2 separate regions of the Homo sapiens genome follow, and region 2 is linked to region 1. The links are contacts of gene promoters, found by promoter capture Hi-C in human tissues and cell types (Jung and others, 2019). All regions are on one chromosome and are shown on one strand. The core of a region is centred on a gene start or on the middle of the fragment in contact, and the rest is flanking DNA. Distances in the headings are between cores, read along the strand shown.

Region 1 (5,295 bases), core at 935-3,434:
AGAAGATGGAAATCATTGGGGTCATGGGTTGGGCAACATGGAGGTCACCAAAGACCTTGCTGATAGCTGTTTTTGAGCATGTAAGCCAATGTTGAAATGGATTAAAAAGAAGGTATTTATATTTCTGGCAATATATGGGATTAATTATCCCAGAAAATCTTTCTATGTAAAGTGCCTGGAAATGTTGGATAAATATAAGAAATCATTTTTTTGAATGCATAGCTGAGTACCCAGGAAAATAAAGGAAGTCTCTAGGGCTGGAAGAAAAAGGGATACCTTGAAACCTCAGGATTGTAGCTGATTCTGAAACTAGAACCGCCCTAGAGGCATTGGCCAGTCTTGGAAACTGAGAAACTTAAGTTTAGCAGCTGTCCAAGAAGAGACAGAAAGCTCTTGGGACCTTAAAAGGTAGGGAGTTAGAATTGAGACCCCTCCAAATACAATTGGAATCCTCAAAGGGTGACACATTGAGTGAAAAAATGGAGTAAGAAGAATCTGCTACCTGGTGAAAGGAGATGGCAAAGGAAGTTCTCTCTCTTGACTTGGGTGGGAAAAACTAAAGACTGTTCCTTAAAAATGAAAACCACATGTCCTCTTACATGTATTTGGGGTTCAAAGTTGCACCATCTAGATGTTGTGGATAATCCCTGGATAAGAAATTACACTGACTGCAATTCTATAGTGTACAAGAACATCTACTGGAAACAAAGCAAATCCTCTTTGGAAGGACACAGCGTCTACACAGGCATTCCAAGCTTCACCAGAAATGAGCTCACAATCCAAAATTACAAGACCCAAGAGGTAATACCACTCTGAGTTCTTGGATAACAACAAACTATACAGTTTCTCAAGAGCATTCGGAATTAGAATAATTAGTTATAGAGTACTAAATAAGTATGTTTAACACGTTTAAAGAAATAAAAGGTAGGGGGAAAAACATGAAAGAACAGAATGCCATCTAAAAGGCAGAGAAGCTTGGAAAAGAACAAAATAGTGAAATATAAGTATTTAAGTGGATATTTCAATGATGCTTAAACAGCAGACTAAATACAACTGAAGAGAGGACTTGGAGGTAATCTGGCATCACCCAGAAAGACACACGGCTTAAGAGACATGGAGGACAGAGTGAGAAGGTTGACAACGTGTCTAGATGAAGAGAATCAGGAGACAAGTGGGAGAACATATTCCCAGGAAGTGCCCAAGAAGCTTCTGGAGATCATAAAAAGCATGACTTCTGATTCGGGAATCATAGTGTATCCTGGGTAAGATTATATTTTTTATTTTTTATTTTTATTTTTAATTTTATTTTTTTTTTTGAGACAGAGTTTCACTCTTGTTGCCCAGGCTGGAGTGCAATGGTGTGATCTTGGCTCACCGCAACCTCTGCCTCTCAGGTTCAAGCAATTCTCCTGCCTCAGCCTCCCGAGTAGCTGGGATTACAGGCATGCACCACCACGCCCGGCTAATTTTGTATTTTTAGTAGTGACGGGGTTTCTCCATGTTGAGGCTGGTCTCCAACTCCTGACCTCAGGTGATCTGCCCGCCTCGGCCTCCCATAGTGCTGGGATTACAGGCGTGAGCCACTGCGCCCAGCCTGGGTAAGATTATTAAAGAGAAATCTATGCCTGGACACACAGTGGTGGGATCACAGGGCACTAGGGACAGACACTTTTATAGCTGCCATAAGAAAAGACAGACGAGCAGTAGTTCACCTAGCTGCGGAATTCTCAACGGGAACCAGAGGACAGCAGTATCGCGCCCTTAAAGCATGGCCAGAACACAAATGTCGACCTCGAAATGCTGCCCCAGCTAAACCAATGTCCAGCAACGGCCCAAGAAACAAGACAGAAGCTGCTTTCCACCGCGGGTTCCCACCACGAAGGGGTCTTTGGACTTCCAAAGGGTGCACGCTAGGGTGAAGAGTGCTGAGGGTGCCCCCAAAAAGGATGCACATCTGCGATGTCAAGGGACTTGGAGAGCAAAGAATTAGATGGGTAAAGTTGGGCAAATATGTAAAATAGTGGCAATAAAGGGTTGAGTTTGGCCGGTCATCAACAACGTGAATCCTGCCCACCCCCATGTATAGCCCCCCGCGCAGCGGTAGGAGCCCCAGCCCAGAACGCTGTGGCTCCCGTGAGCCCTCGCGCTGGCGGCGGGTGCGCAGGCGCCCGCGCGTGTACGGTAGGTTCTGGAACGCAGCCGCTGAGGGGTCTGGCGCCATGTTGGGGCTGAGGGGAAGGAGGAGAAGCTCCTGAAGCGGCGGGCGCGCAGCGGGAGTGGGAGTGGGGTCGGACCAGGGCAGCTAGAAGCCCTGCCCTTCCGCCTCAGCGGATCATGACCCGGGCGGCGGCCGCGAAGGTCGCGGTGGTGGGGGACGTGCCCTGGCGGGGCGGGCGCTGAAAGATGATGCCGTTTCCGGTGACAACCCAGGGACCACCGCAGCCGGCGCCGCCGCCGAATCGCTACGGCGTCTCCTCGCCTATCAGTCTAGCGGTCCCCAAGGAGACGGACTGCCTCCTCACCCAGAGGCTAATAGAAACCCTCAGGCCCTTCGGGGTCTTCGAAGAGGAAGAGGAACTGCAGCGCAGGATTTTAGTTTTGGAAAAATTAAATAATCTGGTAAAGGAATGGATACGCGAAATCAGTGAAAGCAAGAGTCTTCCCCAGTCTGTAATTGAAAACGTTGGAGGAAAGATTTTTACGTTTGGCTCTTACAGATTAGGAGTACATACGAAAGGCGCAGATATTGACGCCTTGTGCGTTGCACCAAGTCATGTGGATCGAAGCGACTTTTTCACCTCATTCTATGCTAAACTGAAACTACAGGAGGAAGTGAAAGATTTAAGGGCTGTCGAGGAGGCATTTGTGCCAGTTATCAAACTGTGTTTTGATGGGATAGAGATTGATATTTTATTTGCAAGATTAGCACTACAGACTATTCCAGAAGATTTGGACTTAAGAGATGACAGTCTACTTAAAAATTTAGACATTAGATGCATAAGAAGCCTTAATGGTTGCCGGGTAACCGATGAAATTTTACATCTAGTGCCAAACATTGACAACTTCAGGCTGACTCTGAGAGCCATCAAACTGTGGGCCAAGTGCCACAATATCTATTCCAATATATTAGGTTTCCTCGGAGGTGTTTCCTGGGCCATGCTAGTAGCAAGAACTTGTCAGCTTTATCCAAATGCAGTAGCGTCAACTCTTGTACGGAAATTCTTCTTGGTATTTTCAGAATGGGAATGGCCAAACCCAGTGTTACTGAAGGAGCCTGAAGAACGGAATCTTAATTTGCCTGTATGGGACCCAAGAGTAAATCCCAGTGATAGGTACCATCTTATGCCTATCATCACACCAGCATACCCACAGCAGAACTCCACATACAACGTGTCTATTTCAACCAGGATGGTCATGATTGAGGAGTTTAAACAGGGGCTTGCTATCACACACGAGATTTTGCTAAGTAAGGCAGAGTGGTCCAAACTCTTTGAAGCTCCAAGCTTCTTTCAAAAGTACAAGCATTATATTGTACTTCTGGCAAGTGCATCAACAGAAAAACAACATTTAGAATGGGTGGGCTTGGTGGAATCAAAGATCCGAATCCTGGTTGGGAGCTTGGAGAAGAATGAATTTATTACACTGGCACATGTGAATCCACAGTCATTTCCAGCACCCAAAGAAAATCCTGATATGGAAGAATTTCGTACAATGTGGGTGATTGGGTTAGGGCTAAAAAAGCCAGATAATTCTGAAATTCTCAGCATTGATCTCACCTATGATATCCAGTCTTTCACAGATACTGTTTATAGGCAAGCAGTGAATAGTAAGATGTTTGAGATGGGTATGAAAATTACTGCAATGCATTTAAGAAGAAAGGAACTTCACCAGCTGCTGCCTCATCATGTGCTTCAGGACAAGAAAGCACACTCAACAGAAGGTAGAAGATTGACAGATTTGAACGACAGCAGCTTTGACTTGTCTGCAGGCTGTGAAAACAGCATGTCTGTGCCTTCATCTACTAGCACTATGAAGACAGGCCCATTGATTAGCAGTTCTCAGGGTAGAAACAGTCCTGCCTTGGCTGTAATGACAGCATCTGTGGCTAACATACAGGCTACTGAATTTTCCTTGCAACAGGTGAATACCAATGAAAGTTCAGGGGTTGCATTAAACGAAAGTATTCCTCACGCTGTCTCTCAGCCTGCCATTTCTCCATCACCAAAGGCCATGGTCGCCAGAGTTGTTTCTTCAACATGTCTCATAAGCCATCCAGACCTTCAGGAAACTCAGCAACAAACATATCTAATCCTATAGTTGGAGTCTAGAGGATATTCTTGCCTCATAAAGAAGAAAGGACCAAGAAAACCAAAACGGAAGAGGAGAAACTCAATACAAAGACAAGTACAACTCCATTAGAAAAATTCAGACAGCATCTTCTCTATTGGCCTCTCAGGGAACATCAGTATAGATCTTTCCGGTATCCCTGTTCTCCCTGCAAATCCAATTCCTGTTATCAAGAATTCAGTAAAACAGGTTGAATGGTTAAAAACAACCTCAAGGGTCCATGAACAATATCTGCCAACTGAACCTGTTGTCTTCAAATACTAAGGAAGGAGAATGAGGGGTACGGGACTAGATATGACTTGAAATAGATTGAGGCTCATTTGGTAACTTCCTTTACTGAGCCAGTCTTGATCAGAAGTCCACATTAGTATGTGACAGCTAGAGGTACTGTTATTAATGTATCAGCAACAGTTACATTAACTATTTCAAAGGACTACTGCCCTTAAAATGAAAAAACCTTTCAGCTATGTTTGTACCCGTGACTGACATCTGGACTGGATTTATGCTTGATGCATTGTTGGGAAAATATGCAATACAAACTGGTATCAGAATTCCTTATACTGATGAGGCACTTTATATTTTTTATTAGAAAGTAGAACTAATTTTAGATTTTTCAAATTGGTGAATTTTATTTTTCCCTGAAGAGGTTTCTTCACTATTAATCTTAAAATTGGATACCATTGTGCAGCGGTGTACTGTACTTCAGAGAAAGCATAAAAGTACATCTAGCTCAGTCCCTATGAGGTAGCTGTAACCCTTTAAAATGAAATGTCAACTTTAAGGTATGTTTTTGACATCAACCATTAGTAGGTCTTTGGTTTTGATGGCACACTATGGAGAAAGGACACACTGGTTTTAATCTGTAGAACTGTTTTAGAGTAATTAGCAATCAAACATTTTCTTTGAGCTATCAAAGCTCCATATTCTCTTGTCCTCAATCATTAGTCC
Region 2 (5,301 bases), core at 2,586-5,085, 190 kb before region 1:
GCACCCCAAACACCAACAGAAGAAACAGAAAGGTTATTAACGGGATTTTTCACTACTTGGACTCACAATATATATCCAAGCTAGCATTCCACTAATCTGTCAACATCTTCTGCTCCTGGAAGCCTAGGCTATGCCTTGCTTATTCTCAGCCACAAGTCTGTACTCGTGATCTTCCTCATTCAATTTGACTCCTGGTGTTGGCTATACTCAAAATCTATCTATACTTTGGGGGAAACTTGAAGACATTTATCAAATCTCTTCCCAGTTCATTGAATCTCTTTCCCTTACATTTTAAAATAGCTTCTTAAAGTTGCACAATGTGCATTGGAGTATAAATTATCCATGTGAAAGCTGAATTTTAAAGTAATTCATGCAGCTTTTATCTTATTTCCTAACCAAAACCTATGCCCTTGGAAAATATTCATATTTTCTTTGAATCTCTCTGAATAGAAATTAAAGTAGTTCCTAATCTGATGGGTGCTTACAGGTTCTAATCTAACCCCTATCTGTTTTATCAGAATCTGTGGTTCAGAATAAATGATCTCTTGATGGATTAATGATAAAGATCTTTCTTTTACCTAGCTCCTTGGTAAGTCAATAAAAACCTACTGAATGCCTACTGTATGTTGCATTATAAAAGCAAGAAGAGTAAAAAGGTCTTTCCTCTTTGGAGGACTATAATTCGGTAGAAGAAGCTCAAGCAACAAATATATGCACCTACCTCTCAGAGCATATAATCATTTAGAGTATATATTCCTATCAAAGCATAGAATCACAGAGCATATACTCCTATCAGAGCTTATACTCAGAGCATATAATCCTAACAGAGCATATACTCATAGAGCATACACTCCTATCACAGCATATAATCCTATCAGAACATATAATCTTTGAATATATAATCCCATCAGAGTTTATACTCATAGAGCATACACTCCTATCAGAGCATATAATCTTAGAATATATAATCCTATCAGAGCATATAATCACAGAGCACACAATCTTAGAGCTTATATTCATAGAGCATACACTCCTATCAGAGAATATGATCTTAGAGCATATAATCCTATCGGACTGTAAAATCATATCTAACTTTTTGAGGTAACAATCGCTGACTGGAATAGATATTAAGAGAAGGAAAGACTGGAGTGGTCAATGAACCATGAAGGAAACTTCAAGGAGCTAACCTTTTCAGTTCAAATGTAAAGCATAAAGTTCTAAAGTTTATTGCTCAACAATGCAAATACAGTTAACATTACTGTATACTTAAAAATGGTTATGATGGTAAATTGTATGTTATGTGTGGTTTTTTTTTTAATAAAAATATAAAAATTAGCCAGGCATGGTGGCGTGCGCCTGTAATCCCAGCTACTTTGGGAGGCTGAGGCAGGGGAATCGCTTGAACCTGGGAGGGGGAGGCTGCAGTGAGCCGAGATCATGCCATTGCACTCCAGCCTGGGCGACAAGAGTGAGACTCTGTCTCAAAATGGAAGGAAGGAATGAAGGAAGGGAGAGAGGGAGGAGAGGAAGAAAGGGAGGGAAAATATGTATTATGTGGGCAAGTAAAATGCAGATGAAGGAAAAGGACAATGATCATTTGAATGGAAGATGGATCCACTGAAATCCAGGTATGGGAGAATACTGAACACGAATGTCGAAAGAAACAGAATGTGCTGACGCTCTGCCAGGCATTTCACAGAAGACAAAGAACACAAACCATGGAGACAAGACTAGCACAATCAAATACTGGGAGGTGAGGAAGGTAGACAGAATTCATGATTTTGGAATGTGCACAGTTTATCATCAGACATTCTGAGAAAGAAGGAAGTGAACTATCTCCCTGGTAACTGCTATGTTGTCAAGTAAAATATTCAACTAGACTCCAGGTTAAAAGTGTCAGACGTATCAATTTGGAGGCAAGCTGCAAAAATACACAGGAAAAAAGGTCTTAGAAGGTGAGATTAGATAAACTCTTTTAAGGGATACAAAGAAAACCAAAAAAGTGGAAAACAGGTCCTAGGGGGACAGTCCTGAAAAGGCAAGAAAAGGAACCGACATTCACTTATGAAATTCACACTTCCTGAATGTCTACTATGGACAGAGCATGATTCCAGTTATGGGGAAGGGGAAATGAACACACAGACGGGTCATGAGCAGTGGGGAAAGAGACGAAGGCTGAGGGAGTGCTATAGCGTCACATCAACTGAGCATGGACTTTGGGAAATAACAGACACCACAAGCTGTGACTCAGTTCACAAGCATAGGTGGAGGATGAGGTTTTGGTATCTGAATGCCTAAAGAAGTAAATAAAATCGAGGGCAGAAAATAAGTCCAAGGTATTTTTAAAGCAAGGAAGGAAAGAAAATGGAAGATAAAAGGAATGAACATAAAAGTCTCAAGTTGATTTTTATGTCAGACTTCTGAATGCCCCAAAACAAAACAATTCTGTAAGGCCGGGAGCCTCAGGACTGTAATCTCAGCACTTTGGGAGGCTGAGGTGGGCAGATCACTTGAGGCCAGGAGTTCAAGACCAGTGTGGTCAACATGGTGAAACCCTGTGTCTACTAAAAATATAAAAATTAGCCAGGCGTGGTGGCATGTGCCTGTAATCCCAGCTACTTGGGAGGCTGAGGAAGGAGAATCGCTTGAACCTGTGAGGTGGTGGTTGCAGTGAGCTGAGATCATACCACTGCACACCAGCTTGGGTGACAGAACAAGATTCTGTCTCCAAAACAAACAAACAAACAAACAAACAAACCCAAAACAATTCTGTAATGGCAAGGGAGTAAATAAGTTACCAATAATGCTGGAGAAAGAGGAAGTGAATGGGTCTCCAGTACCGGTTAGAATGAAAAAATCCCTACCAATGTAAATCAAATGTAAAATCAACAAAAGAGTTCATGTATGTGTGCGGGAAGGAAAGTGATATTTGGGGGTTGGGAGGTGTTACTGAGGGTACTGAATACATATAAACAACTCTTTAGTCTCTCCCAAAGGTCTGGGATGAGCATTTTTTAACCTTTGATACGCTACTAACTTACCTGGACTATGTTGACATGGAAATTCACCTCCCATTATCCACGGCTCCTCTCCCTGCTCCAACTTAATGATGACGTTTGGCTTGGTGGTATCATATCCTGTTAATGGGAAAAGAAGGAGGACTTGGGGAAGCTGCTTGGCTTCAGAATCTCTGAAGTACAAGATGTTGCCACCTCATAAGCTGCATAACAGAAGTGCTCCATTTTTTACCTTATCAAAGTTAGAACCTTTCAATGAATAATAATATAAACACTCCAGCTAGTGCCCACAAGGAATTAAATGGTGTCATCACTTATTTCTTCAAACTCAAGGATAAAACCCCATTCAACTGAGAGCATTCAGAAAGCAAGCTATTCTCACCCACAGAAACTAGATGGCTATAGTTCTCCAACATCACATCCCTGTAAGTTATCTTCTCATCAGGGTCCAGCTGCTGCCACTCCTCCTGGGTGAAATCCACAGCCACATCTTTGAATGACACTGGCCCCTGTAATGGCAACATGATCAGAATTGGGAGATACGGAAAAGGGATAGGGGGATAACGTTTTACAAAGCCCACCGGTAAAGTTAACCATAAACATTGTATACCTTATTTTATGTTACAGATTATGGAAGGGAAATCATATTGGAAACACATATCCTTTGGGGTTATAATACATAATATATAAAATATATAATATATATAAATATATATAATATATATAAAAAATATATATATATTGCCCCACAAAAATAAAAACCCAAAACACAACTGAGCTCCTATTTTGCAAGTGAACTAGCTGAGCTTTGGGGACATGAGATGAGTGAAACACCATGCCTGCTCCCAAAGTGAACAACCTAAAAAGGAGATAAACATGTAAACAAACACAAGCATTTTACTCCTTGTCACTTCTTTTAGTCTTCCTTGCTGCCAGGCCCTCCCCTTGCCCTGGACCTCTTCATGTTGGAGTGCCCACCACTCAGCTCCTGGTCCTCTTCCTCCTAACTCACTGCTCTGGGGCTCTCACCTAGTTTCAGCTCCTTGTTCTTTTGGCTCTTTTATTCTCATAGCCAGTGGCCTCTGGCTATCTGCATGGCTGAGTTTTATCTCAAACATCTCAATCTTGGAGCAATAAATATTCGTTAAATGAATGAATGCCCAAAGCTGTTATTAGAGTAATGCAGACAAGGTGCAGAATGATTTAACAAAAGAGGATCAAATTATTTTAATTTTATGCCATCAGATTAGGCTTCACAGACTCAGTTAACTTGAAGTCTTTAAAGATGAATTGTGCATTCTATGGGATGAAGGGGAAGAAGAATATGATGAGGTGTACAAAGTACCAATGGCAAACGGGAAGCAGCTTCAATTTTTAAGTGGTTGGGGCTGGGCATGGTGGCTCATGCCTATAATCCTAGCACTTTGGGAGGCCAAGATGGGAAGATCGTTTGAGCTCAGGAGTTCGAGACCAGCTTGGGCAACATAGTAAGACCTCATCTCTGCTAAAAATAAATTAAAAAAAAAAAATTGGCTGGGCATCATGGCACACGCCTGTAGTTCTAGCTACTTGGGAGGCTAAGGCAGGAGGATCACTTGAGCCTGGGAGGTCAAGGCTGCAGTGAGCTGTGAATGCAACACTGCACTCCAGCCTAGGCAACAGAGTGAGACCTTGTCTCAAAAAAAAAAAAAAAAAAAAAGAAAAATGCAAAACTCCTGGGCTCCAGCAATCCACCTGCCTTGGCCTCCCAAAGTGTTGGGATTACAGGCTTGAGCCAGCACGCCCTGCCCAAACTTGTAGTTTAGAAAAAGGAAGTGCCCAGTAAGCAGGCTGCATTATCCTATTATTTATAAAGAACATATCAACAAGGGGTTCAAATCCAGTGATACAGCTAGGACCATGTAGATCCCAAGAGATAGCAGAGGCAGGGCCGCTAGGCTGTGGGCTGAGAAACTAAAGCAGAACATCCAAGCTTATCCACAGTCAGGCCACAGGAGCTGATAAAATCACCGAGAGAGAGTAATAACCTTCTGGGTTAAGTTAGTCCAGAAGGCAAGGAGGTAGTAGGGGTTAGAAGACTGATCAACCAATAAATAACATAAAATTACATGCCAATACCACTTACATCAATACAAAAACCCAAAATGAAACATAATCAAACAAAATCCAGTACCAGATTAAAAACATAATATACAATAGCCAAATGGGACTTATTCCAATAATATAGACTAGTTTAATATTTGGAAATCTATTAATATGATAAGCCACTATAACACAGCAAAGA

Evidence for each region. Contacts are between HindIII fragments. The study calls those that stand out against the background at their distance.
Region 2: a fragment that was not itself captured here is called in contact with the fragment with the promoter of PAPOLB in region 1 in 1 of the 25 tissues and cell types used here (dorsolateral prefrontal cortex).

The regions. Positions count from the first base shown.
Region 1 is chr7:4,858,919-4,864,213 of GRCh38, reverse strand. PAPOLB (poly(A) polymerase beta) reads left to right here and starts at 2,184. Exons shown (of 1, transcript NM_020144.5): 1 at 2,184-5,295. The coding sequence starts at 2,404. The coding sequence ends at 4,317. The region is part of intron 2 of RADIL (Rap associating with DIL domain); the gene reads left to right. RefSeq lists an enhancer at 2,329-2,941. The HindIII fragment of the contact is 5,879 bases long and covers 1-4,406 here.
Region 2 is chr7:5,055,520-5,060,820 of GRCh38, reverse strand. RBAK-RBAKDN (RBAK-RBAKDN readthrough) reads right to left here. Exons shown (of 6, transcript NM_001204513.3): 3 at 3,400-3,526; 4 at 3,042-3,137. RBAK (RB associated KRAB zinc finger) reads right to left here. Exons shown (of 5, transcript NM_021163.4): 3 at 3,400-3,526; 4 at 3,042-3,137. Among named protein-coding and RNA genes, the nearest start is that of RBAK-RBAKDN, 12 kb to the right of the region's middle. The HindIII fragment of the contact is 6,513 bases long and covers 579-5,301 here.